Regions from separate parts of the Homo sapiens genome. Here region 2 is linked to region 1. Evidence: promoter capture Hi-C in 16 types of primary human blood cells and fetal thymus (Javierre and others, 2016). All regions are on one chromosome and are shown on one strand. The core of a region is centred on a gene start or on the middle of the fragment in contact, and the rest is flanking DNA. Distances in the headings are between cores, read along the strand shown.

Region 1 (7,026 bases), core at 1,824-4,323:
TTCTGTATTTTCCTGTGCTTCATAAAATTTTGGGGTGGAAGGTTAAATGGTATTTAAGAAATCCAAACATTATATTCAGAACCCCTAAGTTCCTAAATGTGCCACATTTACTGCTTTTTTGAAATGACAAAAGAAGAAAATCTTTAGAAGAGAGAGAACTCCATAAACTTAAGATTCCAAGTATGTCCAGAGCAAGACATCCAGTGTGGCTTTCCTGTTATTCCAGAATTGTGGCTGAGAACAAAAGGCACTGAGTCCACCTCCTTCTAAGAACAGTGAAGCAGCCTGAAGTTGACAGCAACCACCAGATGCAAAGCAGGTTCACTGTGCACTGGTTACCGGTTCAGCCCACTGCATTTTGGACTGCACTTTTCCTATATCCAGTGTCCAGTGACGCAGAACACTCACACACAAGTTACACGAAGTGGGTTTATTACTTACAGACAGGCAGCAAGGGACAACAGAAGCATGTCATAATGACCATATCTCCCAAGGCCGAGGAAAACTTCTTAGGGAGGATGGCGTCTCATCTGCTCGTGCACTGCTTGCACCGCAACTAAGGGACCCCAGAAAGCAGTCTGCTCTCAGTTTTTACTACAGGGCAATGGGATGTGCTGGGCTAGTACTAGTTGAAGGACATCCTATTTCTAGAAGAGACTGGAACAGAGCCTGGGCTGTTCTGGTCAGTTCCTCCTTGTCTATAGTATATTGCATTCCAACACATTCTACAGTTATTCTCGAGAACTACAAGTGAGAAAAGGGGAAGAACTGTGTTGGTTCAAGGCCCCCAGAGAACTGTTCTGTATGAGACCCTCCATCCCTAGCCTACTGACAGCTGACAGAGAAGAAAAGTGGGTACCGCCGCCCCACCACTCTTTAGGAGGCTGAACATCCTGGGAGCTAGGGGACCTGCTACTAGGAGGAAACTCTAGGAGGAAAGCAAGCAAATGTCTGGGGAGAGACGCCAGGATCTGCATGTGAGTGTGTCAGATGGACATGTGGCTAGAATCCTTTTGCTTAAGTTTGCAATTCAAAGAAATACAGGGGCCGGACGCAGTGGCTCACGCCTGTAATCCCAGCACTTTGGGAGGCCAAGGCGGGCGGATCACCTGAGGTCAGGAGTTCAAGACCAACATGGTGAAACCCCGCCTCTACTAAAAACACACAAAAAATTAGCCGGGCGTAGTGGCGGGCACCTGTAGTCCCAGCTATTCGGGAGGCTGAGGCAGGAGAACGGCGTGAACCCGGGAGGCGGAGCCTGCAGTGAGCTGAGATCGCACCACTGCCCTCCAGCCTGGGCGACTGAGCGAGACTCCGTTTCAAAAAAAAAGGAAAAAAGAAATACAGAAGATAGAGCCTGTTTGTGCCTGCACACCTGAGAGCAGGCCACGGGAACATGAGATTGATGTCTTTAATCTTGTCAGAACGGATAGACATTGGGGCAAAGAAATGAGTACGGTAGAGAAATGTGGCAACATAGTCGGCATGGGGGGTGGGGTGGGGTCTGCAGAATACGTGGCCAAATCTCAATGGGACACTGGTGTCTAGGGAGCTTCCTTAACAAGCATCATGTAGCTGCATAAACTACAGCAATGGGCAGTGAGGAAGAAGACTGTAGGCTTCCCTGATCATGGCCTTTCGCCTCTCCTTCTTTGTCCATCATCAGAGGAGCTACCGCAGAGGAGACCTGGAGAGAAAGAAGTGTGTGAAGGGTGTGCCTGGTGCCCAGCCCTCAGTTCTTCAGGCTGCACTGCCAAAGGGAGGAAAATTGCACTGCGAAAGGGAGATGGACATGAGATTCAACTTTTAAAGTAAAGTTAAATGAGTCTTAGAAACCAAAATGAGACTAGTTGAAAAAGTGACAATGTTAGAAAAATTAAGTCACATAGCCAAGACGTGAACAGATGTTTCCCAGGGGGAAAAAGAGGCTTTAGCGAACAAAGAATAGGTAGGTATTACAAAAACGCAACTGTTTACACACACACACGTGTGTAAATATGTGTGTATACGTGTGTATGTGTACAGTTGCATTTTTGTAATACCTCCCTAATCTTTATATATATACTTATATAAATATAAATGCAAATAATATAAATATTATTGTTGCACACACACATATATATGATGATAGAGGATGTAGCATGTAGGATAAACCTTGAGAAATGGGTTGGAATGTCGGCAATACCAAGTCGGGAATCAGGAATTCAGGAGAAGAGCTTGAACAAAAAGGGCAAAGACAGTACAGACTTACCGCGGGGAAGTACAAAACCATTCTAGAGGACCACGTCGAAGTCCACATGGACAGAAACATTAGGGTGTTAAAGGGGATGATAAGGCTTGGATGGGCAGTTTGCTTCAAATAGTGGCGGTCATTGAAGTCAGGCACAATTTCTATTTTTTTTCCCCACTGTAAACCTAACCCACGGCGGTTGGTCAAAGTCTTGCCGAATAAAAAAAAAAAAAAAAAAAAAGAATTAAGTGACTGGACTGCCAAGCTGTAGAGCCTCTATTAAGCAATGTACAGCCAGGAAAGGATACCTTAGATGAGAATGACATGGGTAGAGGGGTGTTTCAGGAACATGGCTAAAGAGCCTCGCTCCCAGCCTCAGCCGGGAGGCTGAATAAAGGACAGTAGCAGGATCACTCCAGCCTTTGAGGACACTTTTGGAAACCCTGGTGGATTCCCAGCATCAACACTTACTGAGGGCTGCTTTCCATCCCTAGGTTCTTTCCGGCATTTGTAATTTCCAATCCACTTAGGACACTTCTACTCCTCAGAAACCGTTTCTGTCGGGGCCGTGAGAGGAGACAGTATAAGACTTCCTGGACCCAAGGGACGCCGGGTCCCCTGGAAGCGCCCATCGCATTGAAGACCACGTGTGCCTTGCTGGGGTCCCATTCAGACAAGTCCCGGGTCGTTCGCTCATCGCCCTCCACGCGACCAGGGGGCGCCCGCGGTATCGGCCCGGCTAGTTCGCAGGCGTGCGCCTTCCCTCACTGCGCCGGAACGGGCCACGTTCTCGGACCCAGAAGCCGCGTCAGAATTCCACGCTGGCCAATCGGAACTGTCCATGTACTACTGGGGGCGGGGCTGCCAAGGGAGGAGGAAGATGGCGGCGGGGGCGAGGTGAGGTGTTGGCAGTGGAAAGGGGTTCGGGCTCGGGGGGCGGGGGGACGCGGAGCGATGGCCCGCGCCGGCCGCAGGGGCGGATAAAAAGCCGTCGCGCTGCGGGAGTGGGCGGGAGGGAGAGGGGGTGTCTGAGGGCCACAAGAGTATGACGGGGCTGTACGAGCTGGTGTGGCGGGTGCTGCACGCGCTGCTCTGTCTGCACCGCACGCTCACCTCCTGGCTCCGCGTTCGGTTCGGCACCTGGAACTGGATCTGGCGGCGCTGCTGCCGCGCCGCCTCTGCCGCGGTCCTAGCGCCGCTCGGCTTCACGCTCCGCAAGCCCCCGGCAGTCGGCAGGAACCGCCGTCACCACCGGCACCCGCGCGGGGGGTCGTGCCTGGCAGCCGCACACCACCGGATGCGCTGGCGCGCGGACGGTCGTTCCTTGGAGAAGCTGCCTGTGCATATGGGCCTGGTGATCACCGAGGTGGAGCAGGAACCCAGCTTCTCGGACATCGCGAGCCTCGTGGTGTGGTGTATGGCCGTGGGCATCTCCTACATTAGCGTCTACGACCACCAAGGTGAGGCCCGGTGCGGTGGTGGGGGGTGGCCGAGGCGTCTTGGACCGCTAGACCGCTGGTCTGGCGGGTGGTGCCCATGGCACGAGTTGCCGCGGCCTCTCTGCAAATCACAGCGCTAGCGCTTTCGAGGAAGGGAGATCAGCTTTATTGAACACCTACTAATTCTCTGGATTTGACTCAGTAGCTTTTTAACATTTTAAAAATATCCCTTGGCCGGGCGCGGTGGCTCATGCCTGTAATCCCAGCACTTTGGGAGGCCGAGGCGGACGGATCACCTGAGGTCGGGAGTTCGAGACCAGCCTGACTAACATGGAGAAACCCCGTTTCTACTAAAAATACAAGTTTAGTCGGGCGTGGTGGCATATGCCTGTAATCCCAGCTACTAGGGAGGCTGAGGCAGGAGAATCGCTGGAACCCGGGAGGCGGAGGTTGTGGTGAGCCGAGATCGCGCCACTGCACTCCAGCCTGGGCAACAAGAGCGAAACTCTGTCTCAAATAAGTAAATAAATAAATAAAAATAAATAAAAAATCTCTTATTCGTTATAATACTGCAGTAATGTAGATGGTATTTGTATACCCTTGCCAAGGTTTAAAAACATTAACTGATTTGCCCAAGGCCACAAGATCGTAATGGGGCCACAAAGATCGGAATGAGGATATTGGAATTTTAGCCATTCTGTGCTTTTTCACAATCTTTGCCTTTGGTTACACCACACTGTTTCTTTAAGAGAGCTTCCAGGCGCTGTTCTTAAGTCGCAGTGAGGCTATAGAGGACTTAGGCATGGGCTGTGTGATAGGTACTGCAAATGGGAGCGGTGGGGGTCAGGTGGTATTTGAACTGGGTTTATGAAAAATATGTGAGAGATTGGATAGGCAGAAAAGAAAATGGTCCCTTTCTGTCTTGGAAGGCTGGGATGGTTTGTGATCCTTCATCATCAGTGCCCAACACAGTACTTGATAGAATTGTCCTCTCATATGTTTTGATTGAGGGAATGAATTTCACCATAGGGAGTTTTTGTAAGTACAAAAATTCAGTACTTATTGGGTAGCTACAAACCTAAAGCACTGTGCTAGGCATATTCCTTGGAATCTTGCATTTAATTCCATGGACTCTCAGGCTTGTTAGGAGGTAGGCACACACTCACATATTTGACATGGTTAATAACAAGAAGTGTTGAGAGTAAAATTACTATTGTGAGAAGAGAGGAGAGAAATTGTGAATGAAGGAACTTGAGAAGTTCATGCAGTGGAGGTGGGATTTAAGCAGGACCTTGAAGAATAGGTAGGAGATAAGTTGAGGAATACTCAGGTTTGGGATGTCAGGTTTGATTTTCAATCAGATCTTGAAAGCATTGGAATTTCTTTAAAGATGTGAGAAGAATGATTTAAGAGTATTGGTATGAAGGGAAGAAAACAAAAGTTTTATTCTCTGTTCAATAAATTACCTGTGTGCTCTAGAGAGGCATACATCTTTGTCAGATTGGTAAATTTAAGTGCAGGGTTTTGTCAGAAAGGGAAGGCATAGGCCAGACAGTAACGCTTACAGGCTGATCTCTGATTGCCCTATCATCTTTCCTGCAGCCCGCAAGGAACATGATGACGCAGTAGCCTGTCATCACCAAATGATGATTTGCCCTATAGGGTAAAGTTTGATATATTCAGAGACTGACATTTATGGAACTTGCTAAAGAACTCAGCAGACCAATAGAAATCATGAGACTGTTAGGAGATGACACAATCCATGCCTAAACCAATGCAACCAGTTTTGCTTGGGGAAAAAAATAGGTGAAGCAAAAGTGGACATAAAGGCATTAAGCAACGTGGTGGATTGATGTACAGCCAGGTGATTCTTTTAAAGCAAGTATCTTTATCTTCCAGTAGGGAAGGAAAATGTATAGCTAAATTGTTTGACTTGATGACCGTGCCTACTAGTACAGACTATAATGTTGCCACATTTCCTTGTTTCTGCAAGTCCTGTGTTTAAATTGCTGATGTGATTCAGAAGTATCCTGTGTCATAGTTGCTAAAAGAAAAATGATTAGTAATTAAAAGGAAGAAGTAAGCTAAGCCAAGTTTTGGCTGAGAACTGAAAGGCACCTTAAGGAGCATTTTCAGTGAAAGGGCTTACAGGATTTTGTATCTTAACTGTAAAATCAGTTTTTTTGTTTGTTTTTTTTAAAAGAATAAGAAATATTCCTGAAATAAGAGACCTTCAATTAGTCCATTCTTGGTTTTGATTCGTTCATACATTCATTTACAGGTGACAGTTGGGGTCTGTTAAGTACCAGATACTCTTCCAGACATGGGAATGCAGCAGTGTACTCATGGAACTTAGATTTCAGTGGGAGTCTGACAAATAATATACGTGGGTAAATATGTGGTAATGTAAGTGCAATGAGGAAAAGTAAAGCAGAGAAGGGAAGATAGGAATGTTGAAAGTCAGTGGTGTAGGAAGGGGTACAGTTTTAAATAGGGAGGCCAAGGAGAGGCTCTTTGAATATAGACTTGAAAATATAGGCCATGTGGATATGTAAGAATCACTCAGAGGGAGTATAGACATGTAAGCTTTATTTAGTGTTTCTTTTTCAGTGGTTTTTTTTTTTTTTTTTTTTTGAGACGGAGTCTCGCTCTGTCACCCAGGCTGGAGTGCAGTGGTGTAATCTAGGCTCACTGCAACCTCCGTCTCCCAGATTCAAGTTCTCCTGTCTCAGCCTCCCCAAGTAGCTGGGACTACAGGTGATGCGCGCCACCCCGCCCTGCTAATTTTTGTATTTTCAGTAGAGACAGGGTTTTGCCATATTGGCCAGGCTGGTCTCAAACTCCTGACCTCAGGTGATCTGCCTGCCTCAGCCTCCCAAAGTGCTGGGATTACAGGTGTGAGCCACTGCGCCCGGCCATATTCAGTGTTTCTAAATAAATGTCTATTTAAGCTTATTTCTAGATAGATATTTAACTATGAAAAATCCTATTGACATACTCGTAAATGCCACTGGGATACAAGAAGTACAAGAAATGGTGTCTCTTAAAGAGTTTCCACTCAAGTAAGGATGTCCATTAAAAATTAACACAAGCTAATATAGAAATGCTAAGTGAATGGCAGATACTTTAAGGAGCGAAAAATGGAAAATTTCCCGGGTTACCTCCATATTTGTCTGGTAAGGAAGGGAGCAACACCTGAGCTGGACCTAGTCAAAAAGATAGAATTGGGATTGGCGTGAACAGTGTTCTCTGTGTGTGTGAATGGGGATTTCCCTAATGGCAGCATTCTCATTAGACTAGGTTCAGTAATAGCATTGAGTAGAGTGTTGGGAGCAGTGAATTTATGTAATGAACAGT
Region 2 (7,026 bases), core at 4,527-7,026, 4.8 Mb after region 1:
CTGGAGTGCAGTGGCCTGATCTCAGCTCACTGCAACCTCAGCCTCCTGAGGAGCTGGGATTACAGGCGTGTACCAAAACGCCTGGCCCATTGAATTTTTGAGAGAATACTAAAAATAATAATTTTATTTTCAGAAACCACATCTTCAGCATAAAGGAAAATAAATGTCAATAACCCTTCGCCACCTCTTGTAATTCCTGTTGAAATCCATAAGGTTATGCTGGGTGCAGTGACTCACATCTTATTTCCAACACTCCAGAGACTGAGGCAGGAGGATAGCTTGATCACAGGAGTTAGAGACCAACCTAGGCAACATAGTGAGACTTCATCTCTATAAAAGTAAAAATAGGCCGGGTGTGGTGGCTCACGCCTGTAATCCCAGCACTTTGGGAGCCTAAGGTGGGTGGATCACCTGAGGTCAGGAGTTTGAGAGCAGCCTGGCCAACATGGTGAAACCCTGTCTCTACTAAAAATACAAAAATTAGCTCGGTGTGGTGGCATGCGTCTGTAGTCCCAGCTACTCAAGAGGCCGAGGCAGGAGAATTGCTCGAACCTGGGAGGCAGAGGTTGCAGTGAGCTGAGATCACGCCACTGCACTCCAGCCTGGGTGACAGAGTGAGACTCTGTCTCAAAAAAAACAAGTAAAAATAAATAATCAATCCATAAGGATATGGTTTAGAATCATGTATATCACATTAAAAATTCCCAGTGTAACCTAGAATCAGTGTGTCTCCATCAAGGTTGACTAAAATTAGACTCATCTTTGGTCCCATAATCCTTCCTGCCTTTACACAAATCTCTGTATAAACTTTATTTTTTATCCTAATAAATGATCTATATCTCTGAAATATTGTGAGAGTGGAACAGATTTTAAGGAAAATAATCAGGTCATATTTTTCTGGAAATTAGAAATTATACTGCTTAGTTCTCTTGTCCTTAGTACATCAACACTAAATATAATGAGGACTGAAACATCTTGGCCCCCCCACAGTAGTTAAAGGATGAATAAAATTTGTGCATAGTTTGTTATATAATCCAAGGAGAGCAAAAATATAAAAAGTATTTTATGGCTTTTATCCTAAATTAGTTATATCTTAAATGTAAACATGTTTAAGTATTTCACAGATATTCTGAAAGGATAAGCCAAAAATAGATTAGGACACAGTAACCCATAGGGGTCAGTATAAACTTAGAATTGGAAGAGACCATATTCTGATTAAAGACATGCTTTTATCTGTTAAGACACACATTGATAGTTTTGGAAAATAATTCAAAACTAAGATACAGTGTCAAATGTACAAAAACTCTCTTCAATTATGGTCTTAATGTTAAAACAGCAAATGAACAATATTCTTTCCACACAGATTTTCTTATTTTGCTGAAATCTAAGCCTATAATTCCATAACAAGCAGATATGTTTATACCAGTGAAATAGATGTCTACAAAAATAAGTTTATTTCAGGCAGAACATACATAAATTCAGGAAAAAAGGAAATATTCACTGTGTAAATAATAAAGTGGATAGCAAATTCAAATATGTGTCTAATATTTAATGTACTATTTTATAATCATTGAGAAGGGAGTGACTTCTTGAAAAAGTGTAAATGACATTTCTAAAACATTTCACTTTTCAAGGGCAGATGTATTGACCTTGATAAAATAATGAAATTATATACTGAAGAAATTCTTCACATTCATTCACCCAAAACGTTATTTATTTGTGCTACAGAAAGGAATCAACTAGTTCGATTTGGCACTCATCAGATTTTTGAATTCTTATTAAACATGTTATTAAGGCAACGTCTAAATCAGCACCTTCCAATAGAAATGAAATGTGAATCACATTTGTAATTTAAAATTTTTTGTAGATGTATTAAAAGAAACGGATGAAATTAATTTTAAAGATGCATTTAATTGAACTCTATATCCAAAATATTTCAATGACATTAATATAAAAATTCTTAATAGAATGTTTTACATTATTTTTCATATAAGTCTTCAGAATCTGGTTGTGTTATATAATTAAGAGCACATCTCCATTTGGACCAGCATATTTCAAATGTCCAGTAGTCCCTATATTGGACAATGCAGGTCTGTAAGCTGAAGGAGAAAGTCGAGGCAATTATCCAGGTGATACAAGCTAAACAAGGAAGCAATCATATTTTTCTTTGTATAAGTTATTTAGATATTTCAGATAAAGTGGTTTTAAGCCTGTGCATTTGCTTTAGGTATTGAACCTAAATTGATTTCTTATATAAAAATCAGATATGAGAGATTTGTAAGAAGGATAAATGTTATATTCTGATAATCATTTAGGCTATCAAAGTACTATACTATATGATACTATATGAAATTTGCCAGATTTGACTTTATTTTCCAGTAATCCATATATTCCATTATGTTATTTTAGCCAATTTATCCTGATTTCTTTTTTATTCACCTGAATTTCTATGGCCTTAGCTGCTTTCTTTCCTCCAGAATTAATTGTAAGAATAGAATGATATCCAGAGGCCCTGACATTTTAAGTGGCCTGATCTCAAGCGACTTCAGACAGTGATTTTTTCTTCTTACCCAATTCTCTACACCTCACTCCACTGACTGTATTGTCCATTATTGCGTAAAACACTTTGGCAAATTCATACCTAAAGCTCTTTCTACTGAGTGATTAAGAACTTTGGGTACTTTTTCCTCACAGTTTTTACCCTGTTGAAGATTTGCTTTAACTTCAAAAGTGATGACAAGAAAGTATGGACACCCCTTCAGGACCAACCTGATAAGTCACTGGTAAGGTCTTAATTTCTCCATAAAGCTTCCTAATATTTTCTAGTATTAAGGTCTTCATATCCCGTAACCCGCTTTGCATCACCTGCAGAAATCCTAGGCTTAGCTGTTTGGTAGCATCTGGCTGTGTCATTTGTTCTATTATTTTTCGCAGGCTCCCACCTAGAGTCCTGTTATAGTGAAGGCTGGCTTCCACTAGTTTCCATTATTGCTTATGGGTCTGTCCCTTTCCTCCAGAAAAGTCCTATCTTTTTAAAGATGTAATGTCAGATGAAGCTTATGAGCCAACCACAGGCCATTTTTTTAATCGACATCTCCTGAAGGAAATTTTCTGCCTTAGCTGGCCTGACTTACTTGTATTTTGTGGCAGAATCCAGTCTTTCTAGGAATCATCCAGTTTTAAAAATCATCTCAGTGGTTGTAGAGCTGACAGCAGAATTCTCTCTACCTATTTTCTCCGCCATGGAGAAAGCATTCCCAGCATCATTTATACAAATGCTATGCACATTTCCACTTCCCAGCAATACTCATCCAGCAGTTTAGATGCCATGGGAGGGTACTCCATAGTTCAGTTCTATGGTATGCTTTGATACGGGCATGGCTGGACACTGCACATTGTTCAGCAATTCCAAATGGTAGTCTTTAGTAAGAGAAAAAACATAATTAGAGTCACTTAACATATTATGTGGCAGCGGGGGGTGGGGAAATATCCTTTAAGAAGTAGCTTTCACATACAAATGGAGTCCAAAATAGTGAACTTTTCCCATTGGATATTTATATGAATACAACCATGGATTAAATGCCAATAGGAGAAAGTGTTTTAGAGACATGCTTAAAATCTGGAGAAAGAAAACAAAAAACAAAAAAAACTCCTGCAGCCAGCTCAGTGTCTGCCCAAACAGCCACCCAGTTTTGTGCTTGAAACCCAGGGCCCTGGTGGCGTAGGCACTGGAGGGAATCTCCTGGTCAGTGGGTTGTGAAGACCGTGGGAAAAGCATAGTATCTGGGCTAGAATGCACCATTCTTCATGGCACAGTCCCTCACGGCTTCCCTTGGCTACCAGAGGGAGTTCCTCGACCCCTTGCACTTCCCGGGTGAGGTGATGCCCCACCCTGCTTCTGCTTGCCCTTCGTGGCTGCACCCACTGTCTAATCAGTCCCGATGAGATGAGCTGGGTACCTCAGTTGGAAATGGAGAAATCACCCACCTTCTACATTGAACTTGCTGAATGCTGCAGAGAGCTGTTCCTATTGGGCCATCTTGACTAATTGCAAGAATATTTTTAAGAGCCTTTCCAGGGCTTCTTGCTTTCTCTAGGCAGACTCTCAGAAGCTCTGTCCCAGACACATTAAAGCAGTAATAAGCAACTTAATATCTTAATCCTGCCCTGAGAAAGGTACTTCATACTTTATAGAGTTTTGAGGCACTAAGAATCAACAAAGGGGAAAAAAGTTCCTTATCCTAATTGAGTGGCCTAGGAAACAACATGTAGTATTATGACTATGTGTTTTAATTCTGTCAATTAGAACTCAAAATTTTCTTTTTAGTCAGATCAGTTCTATAGTTTTGATAAATATCACAAAACAGAAATGAGAGTACAATGCATTTACTCATGGGTGCTTAGACATCAGAAGTCTCATTATTTTCTTTGCCCTCTTTCCTAGCTGTTAATATAATGCTAAGATTAAGTTGACACATTGACTAGACTGTGATCTCTCTTTGCCCTCTGCTTTATTTAAAGATTTTCCTTTGGCGAGCAGTTATATATCAGGCACTCCCCAAACCCAACATCAGAGACACTCAAAATTGCCGTGAATATTCTAGTAGCAATCTCAAAAGTTTTAAGTTCTTTTGTATATAGATAGACTTGACACATTCTCTCAAAGCATATACTGTTTCTGGCTTTTCACTGTCTACAATGCCAGTGCCGGTATTGACTGTAAGAGCTTCCCATGGCATGAATAAACAGTGAAAAGGTCCAACAGAGCTTAAAGGTATATAGAAAAAATAATAGAAAGTTAAAAAAAGATTAAAGAAAACAATGAGTATATTTGTAGAAATAAGTGAGGTTAGTTCTATTTGATTTGTAGTGGCAACCATAGTCAATTTTTTTTTTTTTTTCTTGAGAGGGAGTCTCGCTCTGTCACCCAGGCTGGAGTACAGTGGTGCAATCTTGGCTCACTGCAAGCTCCGCCTCACAAGTTCATGTCATTCTCCTGCCTCAGCCTCCTGAGTAGCTGGGACTACAGGCGCCCGCCACCACGCCCGGCTAGTTTTTTGTATTTTTAGTAGAGACGGGGTTTCACCGTGTTAGCTGGGATGGTCTTGATCTCCTGACCTCATGATACACCCGCCTCGGCCTCCCAAAGTGCTGGGATTACAGGCTTGAGCCACCATGCCCGGCCTATAGTCAAATTTTTTAATAAAATTGCTAACCTACACTTAGTATATCCAATAACGAATGCACTATTTTGATTTTCAATTCTGATTTTATGCATGTTTGAGTAATCGATGCATACATATGTAATATTTTAATGTTAGTAATGATAAAGAACAACTACAATTTATTTAAATAATGCTTCAGGTACTTTTTCTATTCAAGTTATTTACTTAATCCAAAGGGAATAAATTTTTTGAAAATGTAGTAATAGTGATCCTGGAAAAATGTCATGTTCTATTTATATGCCTACAGTATTTACTCCATTTCTATCTCTTCCCTTTGATCTGTTTGATGGCTATGCCTGCCTTATATTTCTAAGAATTTTTTTTCAAACAATTTTTAGTGGGTTGTGGTGTTCATCTCCGTTTCTTACTGTACAAATACTTTTCTGTTAAATTTAAAGGTTACTCTCTAAAGCTTAGTAGGTGTGCTTTCATTTTCACACTGATAACTAAAATCCACATCATTACTAATCATAGACATGCATATGTGTTGATTATAAAGTGATATTGTACATACCACAAAATCAGAGATACAAAAATAATCTTTTGTTCTTTTTAAAAAACTTAATGTAGAAATATCATAAAATGAAGTTAAATTGAGTAAATCTTAAGACATCACTTAGTCAAGCTCCTTGCATCAAATCAAGCCCATGATTATATAAGTGTATAGAAAAGCCCACAAAAAATTAAAAAGAAAGCTTTTCAGTGGAAAACCTGACAGACACCTTATCCAAAAGATCAAAGTTTTAACATCACCAGTAATAGAACAAATAGGTTTCATGTGTCTTCTGATGTAATGCACTAAGGAGTGAGCACTATCACTCCTGAGGCATTTTTGCCAAAAACATATAAACGGGAATAAATCATGAAGAAATATCAGACAAACCCAAATTAAGGGACATTATGCAACATAAATGGCCTGTACTTTTCAAAATGTCTAGGTCATGAAAGAAAAGGACTAAGAAACTGCCCAGATTAAAGGAAACCAGAGACTTGACAACTAAATGCCACATGTAATCATGGATTAGATACTGGAGCAGAAATAACAATACTAATAAATAATTACTGTTACTGCTGTAAAGAACATTATTGAGACAATTAGCAAAATTTGAATGGGGCTTGTGAATTACAAAGCAGTATCATATCAAAACTGATTTTCTGTTTTTGATTGTTATAATGTGGTTATGTAGAAAAGTATTATATTTTTGAAAATGTACATTGTAGTATATGGGAGTAAAAAGGATCATGTTGGAAATTTATTCTCAAACGGTTTACAAAACAGTATGTATGTGTGTGTGTGTTTGTGTGTGTACATACACACACATTGTGTAAAGTAAACAAGATAAAATTTTAATATTTGGTGAATAGAGGTGAAAGATATATAGTAAATTTTGTACAGTGTTTGCAACTTTTCTGAAGTCAGAAATTAGTTCAAATTTTTTTTAAATATTGCTTTGGCTTCCTATTTTACCTGTAGTTAACTGTGTCAAAAATATGCTAATTATGTTATCAACACCCAGGGTTTTTGTAATCTCGCAATATTGAAATCAAGAGACATCACAGAACACAGCAGCAAAGGTAAGTTTTGTTTTTTTTTTTTGAGGCGGAGTCTCGCGGTAGCCCAGGCTGGAATGCAGTGGCGCGATCTCGGCTCACTGCAGGCTCCGCCCCTCTGGGGTTCACGCCATTCTCCTGCCTCAGCCTCGCGAGTAGCTGGGACTACAGGCGCCCGCCACCTCGCCTGGCTAATTTTTTGTATTTTTGGTAGAGACGGGGTTTCACCGTGTTAGCCAGGATGGTCTTG

What was found. The method cuts DNA at HindIII sites, captures the fragments that hold promoters and counts their contacts. A CHiCAGO score of 5 or more calls a contact.
Region 2: a contact is called between a fragment that was not itself captured here and the fragment with the promoter of NUS1 in region 1, in 1 of 17 cell types (total B cells). The highest score is 6.1, in total B cells.

The regions. Positions count from the first base shown.
Region 1 is chr6:117,672,396-117,679,421 of GRCh38, forward strand. It overlaps NUS1 (NUS1 dehydrodolichyl diphosphate synthase subunit), which reads left to right and starts at 3,074. Exons shown (of 5, transcript NM_138459.5): 1 at 3,074-3,690. The coding sequence starts at 3,276. LOC101927919 (a long non-coding RNA gene) reads right to left here and starts at 2,889. Exons shown (of 3, transcript NR_110854.1): 1 at 2,702-2,889; 2 at 2,252-2,440; 3 at 418-1,687. The HindIII fragment of the contact is 6,476 bases long and covers 1-6,253 here.
Region 2 is chr6:122,475,157-122,482,182 of GRCh38, forward strand. It overlaps a transcript of PKIB not described here. Among named protein-coding and RNA genes, the nearest start is that of SERINC1, 6.9 kb to the left of the region's middle. The HindIII fragment of the contact is 283 bases long and covers 5,636-5,918 here.